Linked DNA regions of Homo sapiens: region 1 is linked to region 2. Evidence: promoter capture Hi-C in 16 types of primary human blood cells and fetal thymus (Javierre and others, 2016). All regions are on one chromosome and are shown on one strand. Each heading gives the region's core, a stretch centred on a gene start or on the middle of the fragment in contact. The rest is flanking DNA. Distances are from core to core; before and after follow the strand shown.

Region 1 (3,541 bases), core at 980-3,479, about 38 Mb before region 2:
TACAAACCTAGTTATAATACGGTCTAAGTGTCAAACAGATAACCCTTTCATAGTCTCTGCATCCCTCATTCCTCCCTCCCAAACAAAACCAGCCTGAATTGCCCACTGCATGCAAAAGGCTATTTTGCTTCATGCAAGTCTTACTACTTTCCATGGCTCACAGTCTCCAAGAGACTAACCCTCTCATTTACTAACTCAAACCTTAAACTGCCTCCAACAACTTCCCTCTCTTCTTAACCCCCACTCAGCAAAGACATCTCTGTCAGCGAAGAAAGCTGCATAGGAGGCTTGGAAGTGGCTGCCTCTGCAAATTCCCCGCCCCCCACCTTCCTACCAAAAGGGCACTTCAAGAACTTTACCATCTCACATGAAAGTTGCTCCAATTCCATTCTCCAAAATTGGATTTGAGCATGAAAAGTTTCTTTTTACAATCAACTGCTATTTAGGCTACTGATCACACTTAACTTGCAACTTGCTTTCTACACAAATTAAGAATGCCATCTAGTTCTCATGTATGAGCCAGCACTGGGGGTGTACACACGCGTGCGCACACATATACACAGCCTCCTCCACCGAAGGCATTTCCTGGCACAAGGGGCATCCTAAACTTGCTCCATTTCCAAGGTGTGACCCTCTATCCCCAAATTCATCCCTTTTTCTTCATTTCAAAGTTCAGCCTAATCCGCTATTTTGCAGCAGCTATGGCCATTTATCCCCCTTGATTTCTTGACATCATCTTCTCTGCTTCTGGCTGGGGAACTTTTGATTTGAATACAGTTGTCTGTGTGGGGATCCTTCATGTTAATGATGTGGTGAGCTGGCAGGGATGATAGGTGAGAGTACACAGTGTACTTTTTCTAGTTACGTTTCGCCTCATCACTGCTATAGGGGCCTTTCTAAACGCCTGCCACACCAGGAGAGAGACCTACAGACCCAAGCTTACCCGTTTCTGGGCAGCCTCCAGGGGACAGGTAGAAACAGAACAGATGGCCTGTTCTCCAGTATCTAGACTCAGAAGCAAGATACTTCTAACCACTCCACGAATGAAGCAAACACACGTACCTCTGGCTCAGCCAGGGAGTCACAGTCACTACCCTTCCCCTGGTTTCGGCCCCAGCCCTGTCCAGGCGTGGATGCTGCACTCTCCTCGCTGTAAACCGTCCACCCTCCCAACCCAAAGCAAAGAGCTTCCAACAGAGGTGGGAGCATTAGCGCCGTACCCGCCCTTCCCTCTCGATCCCGGCCAGAAAACTCCACTTCCCGGATTCCCGGCCACTCTCTCCCGCCCCCTCCCCGGGCGATCCAGCTAGCGCAGTCCAGATGCCAGCTTAGTGCCCAGTCCAGCTGCGAACCCCCACACTCCGAGCCAGGACCCAGTAAGAGATCCCAGCTTCCTCCCTCTTCCAGGACTGGGGTTCCCCAGATTCTGGACGCACCCCTCAAACATGCTAGGGCTGAAAAAAGTCCTACCCCGCCCCCCAGCCACGCCGCCAGCCTCCAGCCCAGCCCCGGAGGGGCCTCCTCTCCAGAGGCTAAAAGGGACCATGAATGGTTGCCACAGTAGCCTTCCCCCGCACCGCGCAAGGGTCCTCAGACCCCCGAGGAGGACAGACCCGCGTGGCCCCGAAGGGATACCTCCCTCTCCTCCCGGAAGCCAGCAGGTCCCCGCAGGGAGTGTGCTCTCAGAGGGTCCCCGGGAATCTGGGGAAGACTTGGGGGGTGGCTGGATTCGGGTGCAGCCCCTCCCGGGGCGGGCGGAGGTCGGCGCTGCGGCGCGTCCCCGGGGGGCACTCACGATGGTCACGCTGGCTTTGCGCAGGTCGCGGTTCTCCTCCTGCAGTGCCTTGCACTTCAGTTTGTAGGTCTCCAGCTCTATCTTCAGCACCTTGTTCTCTTGCTGCAGCGAGGCCAGGCGGTTGGTGAGCTCCTCCAGGCGGAACGGCGAGATGACAATGCCCCCCGACTTCCCACCGCCGCCGCCTCCCCCGCCGCCACCGCCGCCGCCCGAGGTCGACGAGCAGGACGACTGCATGGCGGCCGAGCTGCTGCTGTTGCCCCCCGCCCCGTCCGTGTCGCTCTCGCTGGCGCTGTCCGCCATGGCCGCGGCGGGCTGGGGAAAGGAGGAGGAGCAGCAGGGAGGCGGCGGCGACGAAGGCCGGGCTGCGAATGAGTGGGCGCCGGGCGAGCACAGGGGAGCGCCGAGCTGAGCGCCTGGCACCAGGGCGCAGACTCGGAGCGGCGGCGAGAGAAAGAGAGGGCGCTTCCCGCTGCCAAGGGACCTCCTCTGCCAGAGAACAGAGACCCCGCCCGGGCTTGGGCAGTATTGCACTGGGGCTCGCTCCAGCCGGGCTGGGCGCGCTCCCTAGGCCGCCCAGCAAAGCTGGCTGAAAGCTCCGGGACCCGCCCGCCGCCGTCTGGTGACCACGGGCGGGCTGGGAACGCGCAGGCACTGCGGGTGCGGGAAAGCCAAGGACTGCCCCCGCACCACCAGCTCGCCAGCCACACGTGTTCCAAGGGAGGGCCTCCGAGCCCCCTGATCTAAGCCCACGGCCGCCCAGCCTCTTCCGGGCTCGCGCCCGCCCCGAGAAAAAGGAAACCTGATGCCCCACCAGCCTCGCAGGTGCCGGGGACACGTGGAAAGGTCAGCCGGGCTCCGGCACCCATCCTCTACCGTGTTGTGGCCCCATCTTCCGCCGACTGTGTGTGCGCGTGTCTCCCTCTATCTGTTTCACACATACACGCAGTTTTATATTCTCAAAAGCAAGGTGTTTTTGACTAGGAAGGCTTGGATAAACCTAAGAGAACAAAGTTCCTCTACAAGAGGCCGAGGAGGATGAAACAACAGCAGCCACAGGTTAACCTTGTTAAGTAAGAATTTGCAGGAGAGACACACATCTCCTTTAATAACCTCATAAACCACACTGCGCTCAATTGTTTAAACAAGGTGCAACTGTTTTTTTCTTTTTCTCTTTGCATTTTGCAAACATTTCCAGCACATGTCTCGTAGTAGGATTAAGACAGTAACATTTACCTAATGAAGAAAAAAAAAAAGGAAGGCGAAACACTTTTAGTAGAAGATTGAAACACCTCTTTAAGTGCCAATTTTCCAAAGTAACTGCGGACATAACATTATGCTATACAAATAGTAATGATTGAGTGGGAGTGCAACATCACCCGTCTTTGCTATCCTCTTGCTCACTCCTAGAAAACTTTAGCATGTAAAAATAAAACAGTAATTACTGTAATGCGGTCTAATTCATGGTTCTAGCTTTGCAGTTTAAGAAATTAAAAATCAAAAACTTTTATTCCCCCTTCCTCTTCCCAAAGAAAGGCTTGCAGGAAATTGGCCCAGCAGGTGAGATGATTCTAAACACTTTGCCCTGTTGACACAAAACAGCTTTCACTTATGTATAAAAATTGGAAAGTGAAACTGACCAGACTAGTTTTATTACCCACGCTTAGTTAACATTACAACAAACACATGGTAATAGAAAATAGAAAAAAAAGTGTAATTTTTTTTTCTGTTGGGTTGAACTTTCTG
Region 2 (3,244 bases), core at 534-3,033:
GGGTTTTTATGGACATTTTGGTGGGCAGGGGGCTAGGGAATGGGTGCTGCTGATGGGTTGGGAATGAAATCATAGGGGTGTGGAAAACAGTCCTCATGCTCTGAGTCCACCTCTGGGTGGGGCCACAGGAGCAGCTGAGTCATGAGTTAGGAGTCCTGAAGAAGGAACAGATTCAAGGAGTACTTGGGAGATAGTGAGAGAAGAAAGAGACCCTCTCATATTGTTTTATATTGTTTTATACTCAGTACCTGTTTTAAGAAAAAAAACAAGGAAGTGAAACCAAAGGCAGGCAGCCCAGCACCAGGCACCAGACCCAAAACCAGACCTGAAACCAGGCCTGGGCCTGCCTGGCCTAAACCTAGTAGTTAAAAATCAACTCATGACTTAGCATAGATTCCAGGCATTGTATGGAAGAACATTGTACTCTGTTCTGTTTCACTCTGACTACCACTGCATGAAGCCCCTGTCACATACACCCCAGATTGCTCAATCAATCACGACCCTTTCATGTGAAATCTTTAGTGTGGTGAGCCCTTAAAAGGGACAGAAATTGTGCACTCGGGGAGCTTGGATTTTAGGACAGTAGCTTGCCGATGCTCCCAGCTGAATAAAGCCCTTCGTTCTACAACTTGGTGTCTGAGAGGTTTTGTCTGCGGCTCGTCCTGCTACAATAGAATCTCCAAGATTTGGTGACCATTTGAATATTGGAGGAAGAGGAAGTGAGAAAGGAGGAATCAGGTTAAAGAGTGAATATTAATGAGTAGGGAGGAGGGGTAGTAGTTTACTTTTCTTTTTTTGGGGGACGGAGTCTCCCTGTGTTGCCCAGGCTGGAGTGCAGTGGTGCAATTTTGGCTTACTGCAACCTCCGCCTCCCGGGTTCAAGCGATTCTCCTTCAAGCAATTCTCCTGCCTCGGCCTCCTGGGTAGCTGGGATTACAGGTGCCCACCACCACGCACAGCTAATTTCTGTACTTTTAGTAGAGACAGGGTTTCACCATGTTGGTCAGGCTGGTCTCGAACTCCTGACCGCAGGTGATCCACCTGCCTTGGCCTCCCAAAGTGCTGGGATTACAGGCATGAGCCACTGTTCCTGGCCCCAGTAGTTCACTTTTCAAGGACACTGGAGATGCCTGTGGGCATGGATGAGGAGAGGTCTTGTCTAGGAAGTTGGGAATACAAACAATGAGCTCAGGTGAGAAGGGACTGGAGTGTCCCCTCTCCCACCCCAATTTTAAGAACTCTGGAAAACACCAATATTTTAGAGGTAAGTTAGAGGAAACAAAGTAGAATGAATTCAGAGAAGGAAAACCTGGATAGTGTCATAGAAAATAAGTGATAATGCCCAATAGCGTCAAATGACTAAAGCTTGAGTTAGATGAGTCCGGAAATACCTCCAATGAGTTTGGCAACAAGGACACTTATGACAACAAGGCATTTTCCATGGGGGCGGAAGCTGCGATGAGGAGTGAACACAGATGAGCAAGTAGAGACAGTGTAGATTATCTTTTTCAAAAAACTTGGCTGTGAACGGAGGAAGTGAGATGGTATAATTGAGTGGAATGTAAGGAGATTTGCGCACGTATATAGCCGAGAGGAATGAGGAAGGGTTGAAGGGACAGGAGCAGAAATGCTCTCCGGCACTCGCCATTTTGCCAGCTTCTCCCCTACGTGACCTGAACTCAGTGGGCGCGGCCGGGCCTCGCGGAAACTACAACCCCCAGAAGGCCCCACGGCGTTGGGGGCGGAGCCGAGGCCTGACGCGCGCCCCAGCGGCGCGAGCGGAAGAGATAGAGCTTCGCGGAGACGGCGGAAGCGGAGAGCAACAGCGCGCCGGTAACAACCAGCCCCGTATCCCCTCCCTCTGTACCTCAAGCTAGGATTTTTAATCCCCACTTCTCCCTTCACAGCCCGGGACAAGACTTCCATTCCGTCGTTTGTTGCTGGTATTTTTTTTCCTCATGTGACGCGAGGGGCCGCCCCCTGCCTGGGGCGGAGGTTACTGGGAAGCTCCCGCCTTCTGACCCCTGCGGGCCCGCGGTTGAGAGGGACCCTCCCGGGGCTCTTTTGCACTCACTGGGGCTCGTGCTCGCTTTGGGCGCTCGCCCCAAATGATCCTGGCGGAAAGGACGTGCTTTTTCTGGGTTTCAACAGGTATTGAGCGGGGTCCCTGGTTACCCCCTCGGGGCTGCGGGGCCGTGGGCCCCCAGGGCTGCCGGCGGTTTCCGGGCTTCGCTTCGAGCCTCGCCTTTGAGCCTCCTCCGCTGCCCGGGAGCCCCGGGCTACGGGCTGGGAGTGAGCAATCTATAAAGGAGCATGTACTTCCTGCTTTTTCTTGGCAGGCCTGCGAAAAACCCCAAGTCCGATCTTTAAAGTTTGTGAGTGCAGCCCCCTCTCAGTTGTGTACGGGAAGGAGCACAGGATTTGGAGTCTGATATCCTGGGGGAAGTCTCAGTCCGCCACTTGGCTGGACCTGTGATCTTTTGTACAGTAGTCTGTTTAGCGCAGCCTCGGTTTCGTTGTCTGAAAAGTGGGGTTAATGTTCTTTGCCCTGCGGCCTTCCAGGGTTGTGGGCTTCAGCAGAAGTGATATTCCTGCGAAAGCTTTGAACTCTAAAGTATGTTTCGGGTATAACCTTGCCATCCCCCAGTCTCCAGTCTAGGTCAGTTGAGTTTTAAAACCAGGTTCATGTCTATACGAAGATCAAATTAGTTAATAAATAGGGGGAAAGTGTCTTTGGAAACGAATCTGAACCATACAGATGTTTTTATGCCAGGTTCCTAGTGAAGAGGTGACCTTAGGGCGTTACCACCTGTGGAGTCAATTTAAAACTTCATCTGGATTTTAAGGCCCACCAGAATTTAGACTCTTCTTCCTCAGCACACACAACTATCTCTTGCTGTTATAACCTTCCTTCAGTATCACACAGGTACAAGCATAAAGCAGTAAACGTTCCTCAGATATGGTTGTACTACAACTAATACCTGTCCCCAGCAGGTCTTGTGTCTTGTGTCACAGTTGAAATTCAGAATATAAATAGCCAAATATCCCATCTGTTTAATTTTTTTTGACATTAAGCTTTGAGACTAAGCAAGTTGCTTATTGTCTTATTTTTCCCCTTACAGAGAATGCTAATTCTGCAATCAGTTTTTTTTTTTTTTTTGGGTAGAATCAGGATTTCACTATGTCGCCCAGATTGGTCTAACTCCTGGGCTCAAATGATCCTCCCGCCTCGACCTCCCAAAGT

What was found. Contacts are between HindIII fragments. The CHiCAGO score rates a contact against its expected background, and 5 or more counts as called.
Region 1: a contact is called between the fragment with the promoter of CCDC6 here and the fragment with the promoter of R3HCC1L in region 2, in 1 of 17 cell types (total CD8 T cells). The highest score is 5.2, in total CD8 T cells.

What each region holds. Positions count from the first base shown.
Region 1 is chr10:59,904,327-59,907,867 of GRCh38, forward strand. CCDC6 (coiled-coil domain containing 6) reads right to left here and starts at 2,230. Exons shown (of 9, transcript NM_005436.5): 1 at 1,796-2,230. The coding sequence starts at 2,098. RefSeq lists an enhancer at 943-1,172 and silencers at 1,693-1,972, 2,003-2,342, 2,525-2,819. The HindIII fragment of the contact is 3,234 bases long and covers 937-3,541 here.
Region 2 is chr10:98,132,874-98,136,117 of GRCh38, forward strand. R3HCC1L (R3H domain and coiled-coil containing 1 like) reads left to right here and starts at 1,784. Exons shown (of 10, transcript NM_001351015.2): 1 at 1,784-1,833. RefSeq lists enhancers at 2,211-3,000, 2,343-2,482. The HindIII fragment of the contact is 1,235 bases long and covers 1,364-2,598 here.